Regions from separate parts of the Homo sapiens genome. Here all the other regions are linked to region 3. The links are contacts of gene promoters, found by promoter capture Hi-C in blood cells and fetal thymus (Javierre and others, 2016). All regions are on one chromosome and are shown on one strand. The core of a region is centred on a gene start or on the middle of the fragment in contact, and the rest is flanking DNA. Distances in the headings are between cores, read along the strand shown.

Region 1 (4,002 bases), core at 1,481-3,980, 980 kb before region 3:
ATAATGTCAAAATAACATGACTTTGTAAATAATATTAACTATATGTAATATTTCTGCCATACAAATGACCTAGAGATTGAATTATAACTTCTGTTAATTTTTATAAAAGATAAGTCTGTTCCAACCAGTATTTAGTTGATGAAGAATAGTGTTCATGGAACTTAGGTCAAATAGGGTTGTTCATAAAATAAATTCATTTTTATCTTTTCTAGAATGTTTTTTTTCTCTCAAAAGACAAGGGACTGAGCAGCTATAAAATGTTCACTTTTCTGGTTGTTCAGGTCTTCTTAATTCTTGCCTATTTTCTACTTCTGTTAATTATCAGGAGGTGCTTTGATGTCTCCAAGTATAATTGTAGATTTGTCCATTTTTCCTTTTAGTTGTATCAGTTTTCGATTCATGTATTTTGAAGCTCTGTGGTTTTGCACATACATACCTGGATTGTTATGTGTTCTTGGTATGTTTGCCTCTCTTCCTCCCTGACAATGTTCCTTGTTCTGAAGTTTGCTTTGATAACAATATAGCCATTCTTGCATTCTTTTTGTTAGTGTATGTTGATGGTTTGTCATTTTCTATTCTTTTATTTTTAATTGATCTATATAATAATATTTATAGTAAGCTGCTTATAGACTTTAATTGTATCCCCCAATTTTTGATATGTTCTTTTCATATTTAAGTAGGTCAAAATATTTTCTGAATTCTCTTGAGACTTTTTGATCAATGGGTTATTTAGAAGGGTGTTGTTTAATTTTTTCTTTCTTTCTTTTTTTTTTTTTTTTGACGGAGGCTCACCCTGTCTCCCAGGCTGGAGTGCAGTGGTGTGATCTTGGCTCACTGCAGCCTCCACCTCCCAGGTCCAAGGTATTCTCCTGTCTTAGTTTCTCAAGTAACTGGGATTACAGGTACGTGTCACCAAGCCCAGCTAATATTTGTATTTGTAGTAGAGACTGGGTTTTGACATGTTGGCCAGGCTGGTCTTGAACTCCTGACTTCAGTTGATCTGCCCACCTCGGTTTCCCAAAGTGCTGGGAGTACAGGCATGAGCCACCGCGCCTGGCCTTAATTTTCAATTCTACAGAGCTTTTAGGTGATCTTCTTTGTTTCCCCACTCTGACAATTTCTATCTTTTAATTGGCATGTTGAGACCATTTATATTCAATGAAATTATCGATATGGCTACATTTAGGTTTACTTTTTTATTATTTTATAATTTCTTCCCTCTGGTTTTTATTTCTCTATTTACTATTCTTTGCCATGCTTTATATTATAGGCATACCATGCCTTCAGCAAGTCATAATCTTTTTGCTGGTGGAATATTACATTGAATCTGTAGATCACTTTGGGTAGTATGAACATTTTGATATTGATTCTATAATACATAAACACAAGATATCTTTCCATTTATTTGTGGTTTCTTTTTCTTCCACTCCTTTCATTAATGTTTTAAAGTTTTCAGTATACAGATCTTTCATCTCCCTGGTTAAATTTATTCCTAAGTATTTTCTTCTTTTTGATGCTATAGTAAATTGAATTGTTTTCTTAATTTCTTTTTTGAATAGTTAATTGTTAATGTATAAAAATGCAACTTATTTTTGTATGTCGATTTTCTGTTTTGTAACTTTAGTGAATTCACTTGTTAGTTCTAACAGTTTTTTTGTGTTTGGAGTCTTTAAAGTTTTCTATATATGGCCACGTCATCTGCAAAGAGAGACAATTTTACTTCTTCTTTTCTGATTTAGATGGCTTTTATTTCTTTTTCTTTCATAATTTCTCTGCCTAGGACTTCCAGTACAATGTTGAATATAAGTGGTGGGAGTTGGTATCCTTATCTTGTTCCTGATCCTAGAGGAAAGGCTTCCAACTTTTCACTATTGAATAGAATGTTAGCTGTAGGCTTGTGATATATGACCTTATCGTGTGGAAGTACATTATTGCTAAACGCAATTTGTTGGGAGTTTTTGTCATAGAAGCATACTGATTTTTTTTTCAAATGCTTTTTCTGCATCTATTGAGATGATCATACAATTGTAATCCTTCATTCTGTTAATGTGGTGCATCACATTTAGTGATTTACATTTGTTGAACCATCCTTGCATCATAGGGATAAATCTCATTTGATTATAGTGTAGGATTCTTTTAATGTGCTGTTTAATTCAATTTGTAGCTGTTTTGTCAGAGGATTTTTGCATTTACGTTCATCAGGAATATTGACCTGTAATCTTTTCTTGTAGTGTCTTTGTCTGACTTTAGCATCAGGATAGTACTAGCCTCATAAAAATCCCTTTGTAAGTTTTCCCTCCTCTTCGATTTTTTTGGGAGAGTGAGAATGATTGGTATTCATTCCTCTTTCAATGCTTAATAGAATTCACCAGTGAGGCCATCTATTATTGGGCTTTAATTTGATGGGAGATTTTTGATTCCTGATTTAATCTTATTACTCATTATTGGTATGTTCAGATTTTCTATTTCTTTTTGTTTCAGACTTGATAAGTTTTATGTATATATATATATATATATATATATATATATATATATATATATATATACACATACATATTTAGGATTTATCCATTTCTTATAGACTGTTCAGTTTTTTGGTGTATAATTGTTTCTTGTAGTCTCTTACAATCCTTTGTATTTCTGTGGTATTTGTCATAACGTCTCTTCTTTCATTACTGATTTTATTTGAGTTTTCTTTCTTTTTTTCTTAGTGTAGCTGAATTTTAAAAATCTTCTCAAAAAAACCTTTTGGTTTCATTGATCTTTTATATTGCTTTCTAGTCTCTGTTTCACTTATTTCTGCTTGGATCTTTCTTCTATCAACTTTGGGCTTAGTTTGTTCTTCTCTTTCTAGTTCCTTGAAGTGTAACATTAAGTTGTTTACTTGAGTTCTTTCTTTTTAATGTAGGCATTAACTACCGTGAACTTCCCTCTTATAACTGCTTTTGCTACATCCCTTAAGTTTTAGTATGTTTGTTTCCATTTTTGTTTGTCTCAAGATATTTTAAAATTTCCCCTTTGATTTCTTTTCTTTACCCATTAACTGTTCAGGAACACATTATTTAACTTCCACATATTTTTGAATTTTCCTGTTATTAATTTCTATTTTCATACCATTGTGATCAGAGAAGATACTTGGTATGATTACAATTTTCTAACATATTTAAATACTTCTTTTGTGGCCTAACATATGATCTATCCCAGAGAATGTTTCATGTGCACTCAAGACAAATGTGTACATGCTTCTGTTGGAGAGAGTGTTTTGTATACATCTGTTAGGTCCATTTGGTCTAAAGTGTAGTTTAAGTCCAATATTTCCTCATTGATTGTATGAATGATCTATTAATTGTTGAAAGTGAGGTATTGAAGTCCTCCACTATTATTGTTTTACTGTCTATTCCTCCCTTCAGATCTATTAGTATGTGTTTTATGTATTTAGGCACTCTGATGTCGCCTGCATATATATTTATAATTGTTATATCTTCTTAATATATTGATTCCTTTGTCATTAAAAATTGCCTTCTTTGTTTCTTTTTACAGTTTTGACTTAAAGTCTATTTTGACGTAAGTATAGCTACATTTGCTATCTTTTCCTTTCCATTTTCATGGAATGTCTTTTTCTATCCCTTCACTTTCAGTCTATACATGTCCTAGAAGCTGAAGTAAGTATCTTATAAAGAGCATATAGTTAGGGTTTAAAAAAATCCATTCAGGGCTAGGTGTGGTGGCTCATCCCTGTAATCTCAGCACTTTGAGAAGCTGAGACAGGCAGATCACTTGAGGTCAGGAGTTTGAGACCAGCCTGGCCAACATGGGGAAATGTGTCTCTACTAAAAATACAAAATATTAGCCAGGTGTGGTAGTGTGCACCTGTAGTCCCAGCTACTTGGGAGGCTGAGGCAGGAGAATCACTTGAACCTGGGAGGGAGAGGTTGCAGTGAGCTGAGACTGTGCCACTGCCCTCCTGCCTGGGTGACAGAGCGAGACTCCATTTCAAAAACA
Region 2 (3,742 bases), core at 498-2,997, 990 kb before region 3:
AAAAACCCTGGATTTTGACCAAGGAGCCAATAGTAATTAGCTTTGCAACCTTGGGTAAGTGATCTAATTTCTCTAGCTTAGGGTTTTTAGGCCATGCAATCAAGAAAGCAATATTATCTACTTTATCTATTTAACTTCGGTGTGAAAGAGATTAACTTTGAAGCACCATGTAATAATTTATTATCTTTATTATTATAAAAATTAATACTAGTAATAGTTTTAGTAATAGTAGTAATACTTTTAGGTGATTGTAGAATAATTAGGCAGTATAGAGAAACCCCTGGAATTGGAATGTGGGGTCACGAAAAGTTGCCTTTTAAAAAACAAAATAATGAAAATCAATCAATTATTAGTACATTTTGTTTGCCAAGCTATTCCCGGAACCAAGCCAGGTCCGACTGCGTTTTCTCCAGTCCCAATAATGAGAAGCAGACAAACTAGGAAAGAAGGGAATTTATCACTGTAACCAGATACACAGAGAAGGCCGGAGGTAATTCCACCAACTCAAAGTGTTACAATTTTCTTAGCGCTTATATAGGTTGGGGCTATGTGCCTATGTGCAGTATAGCATTCGCCTAAGTCTATTGGTAACTGATTCTGTTTCAACTAGAAGGTCAGAGGCAAAAATTGCTTGCTAAGTCCAATTAAAAGGGCCCCAGTACCTTCAAGGCCTGTCTACTGCGGTACCAGAGTGATTATTTCTATCTCATCTCCTTTACAGCTTGGTCCGGAGAGCTGCCTTAGACTCTCCGATGAATCTATTCAAACAGCTGCCTCTGTTACCTTGACTTGTCTCAGATTTTGTCAATGCAAGATGGGTCCTGGCAGTAGGAATGTAAGACTGTCTCTATTATTTTGGTTTGCTCCAGGTTAGGGAGAAGCCCATGCAAGGTTCCTACTGACCATATGTTTCATTTCTAGTTTTGATGTCTGGGCATTGATTTCCCTAGGTTTGACTATTTGCTCAATGGTAAGACAGTGCTATGGAAATTTGTCTGTGTAACTGGAGTGCTATGTAGGCCTGTCTGTGTGACTGTCATGCAGGCCTGTCTGTGTGATTGTCAGGGAGAATTGGCCTGCCACAAAGCCATCTGTAAAATATCCTACTCTAAGGAATAATTTCTAACTATGTTGCTGATGGGAATTTAAGAGTTATTCACATACAAATAAGAATAGTTACATGTAACTAACTTTTACTGACTAAAATGTGTATTTTACAGGCAGGGCACAGTGGCACACACCTGTAATCCTAGCACTTTGGAAGGCCAAGGCAGGCAGATTGCTTGAGCCCAGGAGTTTGAGATCAGTCTAGGCAATATGGCAAAGCACTGTCTCTATAAAAAATACAAAAATTATCCAGGCATGGTGGTGCATTCCTGTAGTCCCAGCTCTTCAGGAGGCTGAGGCAGGAGGATCACTTGAGCCTGGAAGGTTGAGGCTGCAGCGAGCAGAGATCGTGCCACTGCACTCTAGCCTGGGCAACACAGCAAGACCCTGTCTCATACACAAAATATGTATTTTAGTGTCAGACAACAATAATATTTTGATAGTAAGCATTTTTCTCTTTAGCTATTACTATTCCATGTTGCAGACATCAGTTTTGTGTTTCGCATGTTAAAGTTTGAAGTGGCCTTAAAGGACATCTAGTTTATCCCAGTCCTTGAATGTAAACAGATTTTAAAAACGAAGAAGCGACAATCCAGGTGGGCTGGAACTTCTCCACATGAGGTGCAAATTATTAGCAGGGTAGAGCGTAAATCTCAGATCTGACTTCCCATCGCATGTTCTTTCAGATATTGTGGCTTGATTGGCCTTATTCCAGACCCTTGGAAGTCCAGGTGTCAAGAGTAGGGAAGGCCTTTTTCAGTAAGAACTTTGCAGTCTAGTGGAAAAAAACAGGTAAGGACTGAACTCTGACATTTTTACTTTCTCAGATTTCTTTTTAAGGGCCCACAGGGAGTCAAATCTACAAGACATAAAATTATGTTAAACAAGTTTTTTTGACCCAGTATATTGTGGCTTACTTTTGCAACCAGACTCTGGTATGGCATCATGTAACAGAAAACAGACCCCCTTGTCTTAACTGAAGCATTCCTTTCTACTGACTCCAAGTTTTTAGACAAAGCTCAACTCTTTCAACCAATTGCCAACTAAATAATCCCTAAACTCACCTGTGTCTTGTAAGCTCTCACTGCCAGATGTCCTGCCTTTTTGAATAGACTCAATGTACAACTCCCATGTATTCGTTTATGTTTTGACATGCAATTTCTGTCTCCCTCCCAAACGTTAACCCAACTGCCTTGGGCACACTTTCTCGGGACCTCTTGAGACAGTTTCCCCAGGCCATAGTCACTCATATTGGCTCAGAATAAACCTCTTTAAATATTCTGGCAGAGGTTGATTTTTTTGTTGTTACCAGTAACTGGCACCTATACTAAAAGAATGTAATTAGGGATACAGTGAATATATAAGCAACACACATGTTTTAGGAAAACAGTTGAAGAGATACTTTACTCTTCCTGAAAAGGATTAAGGAAGTCTTATAGAAAGTGTTTTTTTATATATAGCAGTATTCATTTTCAGGACTCTGAAATAACAGGGAAATCTCCCAGGAGCTTTGGTATGGTGACCCATAAATAGTGACCTGAAAGCATGAGTATGAGATGCTTTTAGCAATTTCAGTCCAATATGCATAGCACAGTCTCATTTAAGAACAATATATGTGTATGTCATGGACATAGAGAATGGAAAAATAGACATTGGAGATAACAAAATGGGAGAGTGGGAGGGACATGGTAAGAGTTGAAAAATTACCCATTGGGTACAATGTTCACTATTCAGGTCATGGGTACACTAAAAGAACAGACATCACCACTAAGCAATATATACATGTAAGAAATCTGTGCTTGTACCCCCTAAATGTCTAAAAATTTTAAAAATTAAAAAATAAAAAGAATATTTGTGTATTTGTGTGTGTATAATCACAGAAAGAAGTCTCTAAAGTTATATAACAAAATGACTGTAGTTTTCTGGGAGTGGGAGGGGTGGGGTTAAGATGAATAGGGGTGGGGTAGGCTCAAAGCATTCTGGGAATGAAAGTGAAACTTCTTTTAGTATTTATGTCCTTTTTATGTGATGAAATTATGTGAGGTTTTTACTTTACTGTGCATATTTCAATTAAGAAAAAGATGTGCAAGTCTCTTTCATCCTTGTTTTCTTCCATGGGTTTCAAATCAGAATCCTTTGTACTCTTGATGTAATGGCAAATATTTTGGGGAAACAATTTATTTTTTAATTCTCTCTTTATTAGAGCTCCTCCTCTCAAAGATTCTGGCATAACATGTGGAGCCCTGTCACCGGATAAGAAGGCGCACTATTCTATCTCTCCAATTCTACCCTTGGACCAAAATCAGGCACATGGACTCTTTCTGCCTTTGAATGACTTCCTTCCCTTGTATTTGAATAACTTTCTGCCTTTGAATAATTTCTTTCCCTTGTATTTGAGGCTACTTGATAGATTCTCTAGATGAATTCAGATAGGACTTACTTTCAGAATGAATACAACTCAGGCTATTAATCTGTGACCTCAGAATACAGAAATTATTATCCCCATCATGTGGATGAGGCAGCTCAGAGAAATTGAAAAGCTCACCGCAGTCACCTGCCAAATAAATGGCAAAGCAAAGCTATCTGAAGCGAGATCTACCTGACCCCCTAAGCCCATGCTCTCCCCTAGCACCAT
Region 3 (4,151 bases), core at 887-3,386:
TCACCTGGAGAACTTGTTAGAACACAGATTACTGGGGCCCACCTTCAGTTTTTGATTCAATAGGTCTGTAATGGGGCTCAAGGGTTAGCATTTTCCAAGTGATGTTGATGCTGCTGGTCCAGGACAACACTTTGAGAATCACTGAATTGGACCTTCATTGATCAACATGGACAAATCTTACAAACAGAATGTTGAGTGGAAAATGGAAGTTGCAAAAGAATACATATGCTTTGATACCATTTATGAAAAGTTTTAAAATATGGAAAAGAAATCATTTTACTGCATATGTATATATATCACATATACACATGCAGTAAAAATTTTCAATAAGATCACAAAGCTAGTCAGTTACAGGTCTAGGATTTGTACCTATGTGTATCCGTGAAATCGCCTTTGCAAACTGAAACCCCCTTTGCAAAAATTCTATCAGTGAGAAAATTATAGCAGTGGAGGAGATCTGATCTAGCCAAACCCCATCTTGCCTTTAGCTTTCAGTCTGTCCTTAATTATTCCTGGGCTTAAGCCAAGATAACTTTGGGAGACATTTAGTTTAATAGTTTAAATAATTACAGTCCTTCCCCAAAACTCAATTGCCTTTGTAAAGCTAATGAGAGACCACCAGACAACGGGGATAGATGAGCCTGAATTCTGTTAAGTGTAGACATAAGTGATTGCCAGCCATTATTCCAGAGGTCACAAGATATGCAACTTCCCCAATTACTCCTACAGATAACATCACTATTGTAGAATCTAGGATTGGCCTTTTTGGGTATATTTTTAAGTTTTTTGCATGTTTGACTACTGATGGCTCCACCTGGACCCACCAACTGTTCCTGTGGCTCCACCCAGAAACAACTCAGTAGGCAGGAGGACCATCTCCCATACCCCTATGACTGCACCAGTCAGCAGCAAGCACCCATTGCCTAGCCACCCCTACCCCTTTCCCCAGACTACCTTTGAAAAGAAACCTAGCCCCCAAATGCTCCAGGAGGCCGATTTGAGTAATAATATAACTGATTTGAGTAATAATAAAACTTCTTCCATTTTTCCACTCGATGTTGTGTAAAACTCTTTCTCCATTGCAATCCCTATACCTTGATAAATCATCTGTATCTGGGCAGCAGGCAAGAAGAATCCACTGGGCCACTATATCTGGATCTAAAGGCCATGTATTTTCCACTACAAGCTAATTAACAAGAGGTATCCTTTCCCCTCAGAAACAACTGGACACACCTGTGTAGATTCTACATAAAGAACAGCTAAAGAAAATCTGGTTAATACTTAGCCTAGTATACTTACCAGGAAATCAGCAACAGTCTTTCTCTGATATTCCTGAAATTGTAATCCCCACCTTACACTTGTATCACTTGTTTTCTAAATATTAATATACGGTAAAAATCAGGTGGCTGTGTGCTATGGGAAAATCTGGAGGAAAAGATAATTTTAAAAATATACTTTTTTGGCTCTGCTTGCTACTGAAAAAAAATTTTTTTAAGAAAATATACTCTTCCCTCCTTAACATTAAAGTGAATCCACAGAAGATGTGTTTGGTGAAGTGTCTGGTGGTGAATACTAAGTAGAAAGGGCAGACTAACACAGCCTTAGAGCCTGGATAAAATCCTGGTGTCCTGAAAGTTTGACCGTGGGAAATCTGGAGGATAAGGTCTATCTCTGGTCTGTCTATCTAACTTCTGCACCTTGCACATAGTAGAGGCCTGACAGATACATGCCAACCCATGTGTGCATGCAATAATTCAATCCACAATTAGGAACATTGTGCCAAAAGGAGACCCACCAACTAAAAAGAAATACAAATTCTTAGCTTTCTGTGACTACCCTTTACTGCCTTTGCTGGCGAAAACAAAGAAGAAAAGAGGAGGCTTCAGTATTCAAATACTGCCAGTTCCGCAGTGAATTCTAAAAATGGTTACTCTTGGGATACAAGGAACCCCCACGAGGATAAACAACCTCTGAGGTTACCTGAATGCCCCAGCAAAGGGCACGACTACTTCCGGAGCCGCACCGGAACCCCTTGGCGGATTATGTGGGTTCCTGCGGGAACGATTTAAGAATAGGACTACTTCCTGCTTCTGGATATGGGCCGGTGAAGGGAAAGGAAATAGCTCTACGAGCGGCATCCTGCCTGCGTTAGCGGCGGTGGAGGAGGAGGCAGAGAGGAGTGGAGGGCGGAGTAGACGGAGGAGGCTGCTGCAGAGAAGAAAGTGTCAGAGCCGGTAAGTGAGCCAGTCACCTTAGAGCAGGGGACAGCGGACAGCGCCCCAGGGCTCGCTTCGCAGATATGTGGTCCCAAGTTGCTGAGCTGCCCCATGGGGTCAGGTCGGTCGCCTGTCAGTCGGCGCCGAGAAGAGACTGTTGGGGCGCTGGGGCCGGGCCTCGCGGAGCGCCAGAGTGCGCTCTCGCTGGCTGACAGCCTATCTCGGGAGCCAGAGGAGGCCCCGGGCTTTGTCCTGCCTGGTGGTGCTGGGGTTTCGCATCCTGGACAGCTTCCCCAGACAGTGTTTGGAATTCAGGGAAGGAAGAAAGTACGTGCGCCCCCATTTAACCCTCGGGACCTGGCGAAATCCTGCTACGTGGGTAGTGAACATTGTATCGGGGACTGAAGGAAATGCTTGTAAAGAGTGTTAGTCTGGAGCCATACTTTCCCTGCCCTGTTCAAGCTCCCTGGACTGTCGGAAGCGGAGTTGTTTGTAAAGGCAAATGCAGACGCCTCCTCCTCCTGTCACTTCGGGACAAGTTAACAATCTTCAGATTCGTTATTAAAGCCTCGTGTACCCTATGTGATCTATCAGGTTAGTACTGCTGTGGGTATCTGGTGCTTGTTCTGTAAATATACTTGATGTCGAGATCACAGTTAAATATCTCCAAGCACTTTTTGAAGAGAAACAAGACTGACCTAACAGTCGGGACTATTTAGCATACTTTCCCTCACCTTTACTTTAATCGTTTTAGCATGCAGAGTAAGGATGGTAATCTTAAATGTACTAGATTAAGTTATTGTGCATCTGCAGAAGGCCTGTGGTATAATAGGATATGAAACTCTTGATAACTGACGAAATGAGTGAAATGATTATATAAAGATTGTTACTGTAAAGATCAGAAATAGCTTTTATTAAGTTCCTGCTTTTCTGTTGTCTTAGGTTCGGCTTTAGAGTGTGGTGAAGGGTACTTTTCATGGTGCATGGAAGGAAAGCCAATGCGCAGGTAGGCATTTAGGAAGAAAACCTTTGGTTTCACTGATTAAAATTCAGCATGTAATAATTTAAATTTTTAAAAAAGAGTTTCAATCTTACTAAATTCTGCTTGGAACTAATGAGTCTTGTTCTACAATAAATCAAAAGTAATATTAAGAATTAATAGCTTTTTAATAGAATAAAATACAGAAGTTGTTTCTGAAAAGTGCTGTGGATTGTATGTAGTGCTAAACACTTAAATTTTCCTTTTTTCATGTTTTTTACAGTAAATAATCATTAAGTTCATTATGATACTATATGGATTTATTATAATCTTCAGTTCCCTATAAAATGTAGAGGATTCTGTTCCCATGTAAGAATCATAATTATTTATAATATACTGTACTGCATGCCTAATTATGGTTTTGGTTATTTCCTTGATGTTCAATCATACATTTGTTCTGTTAATTAAAATAGCTGCATTGTAGGGAAGATTGTATAAGGACTAAAATAGGTATTAGACATAATAACTTAGTCCATAGAAAAATAGAACAATGTCTGGGAAAATATAGACAATAAATAGGCCCTCCCAACCCTAGAATTTAATAATGTTTTTTCTCATTTTGTTCTAACAAATGAGACTAGAATCTTTATGATACAAAATCATCCCAGTTCTATTTCTTTGGTTTTTACATTTGTTTTCTATTTATTGAACTCTATTTAATCATTTGTTATTTAACATCAAAGATAAACAACTTCTGCAGTTCTTTTAAGAGAAGAAACATTTTATAATGGGAATATGACTTATAACTCAGAACTTGGAGCAAGAACCAGAATGTATATCTTTATCCAAATCTGTTATTGGTTTATCAATTGACCTTGAGCTGTTCACCTTCTCTGTACCCCAGTTTACTTCTTTAGTGTATCTGATCAGGATATTGGGGATTAATGAACATTTGC

What was found. Contacts are between HindIII fragments. The CHiCAGO score rates a contact against its expected background, and 5 or more counts as called.
Region 1: a fragment that was not itself captured here is called in contact with the fragment with the promoter of KLHL20 in region 3 in 2 of 17 cell types (naive CD4 T cells and naive B cells); the score reaches 5.9 in naive CD4 T cells.
Region 2: a contact is called between a fragment that was not itself captured here and the fragment with the promoter of KLHL20 in region 3, in 1 of 17 cell types (naive CD8 T cells). The highest score is 5.3, in naive CD8 T cells.

Annotation. Positions count from the first base shown.
Region 1 is chr1:172,736,673-172,740,674 of GRCh38, forward strand. No RefSeq gene overlaps it. Among named protein-coding and RNA genes, the nearest start is that of FASLG, 80 kb to the left of the region's middle. The HindIII fragment of the contact is 5,998 bases long and covers 1-4,002 here.
Region 2 is chr1:172,721,372-172,725,113 of GRCh38, forward strand. No RefSeq gene overlaps it. Among named protein-coding and RNA genes, the nearest start is that of FASLG, 64 kb to the left of the region's middle. The HindIII fragment of the contact is 6,552 bases long and covers 1-3,742 here.
Region 3 is chr1:173,712,845-173,716,995 of GRCh38, forward strand. It overlaps KLHL20 (kelch like family member 20), which reads left to right and starts at 2,137. Exons shown (of 12, transcript NM_014458.4): 1 at 2,137-2,234; 2 at 3,159-3,222. The coding sequence starts at 3,200. It also overlaps a transcript of ANKRD45 not described here. RefSeq lists enhancers at 2,041-2,230, 2,311-2,680. The HindIII fragment of the contact is 9,904 bases long and covers 1-4,151 here.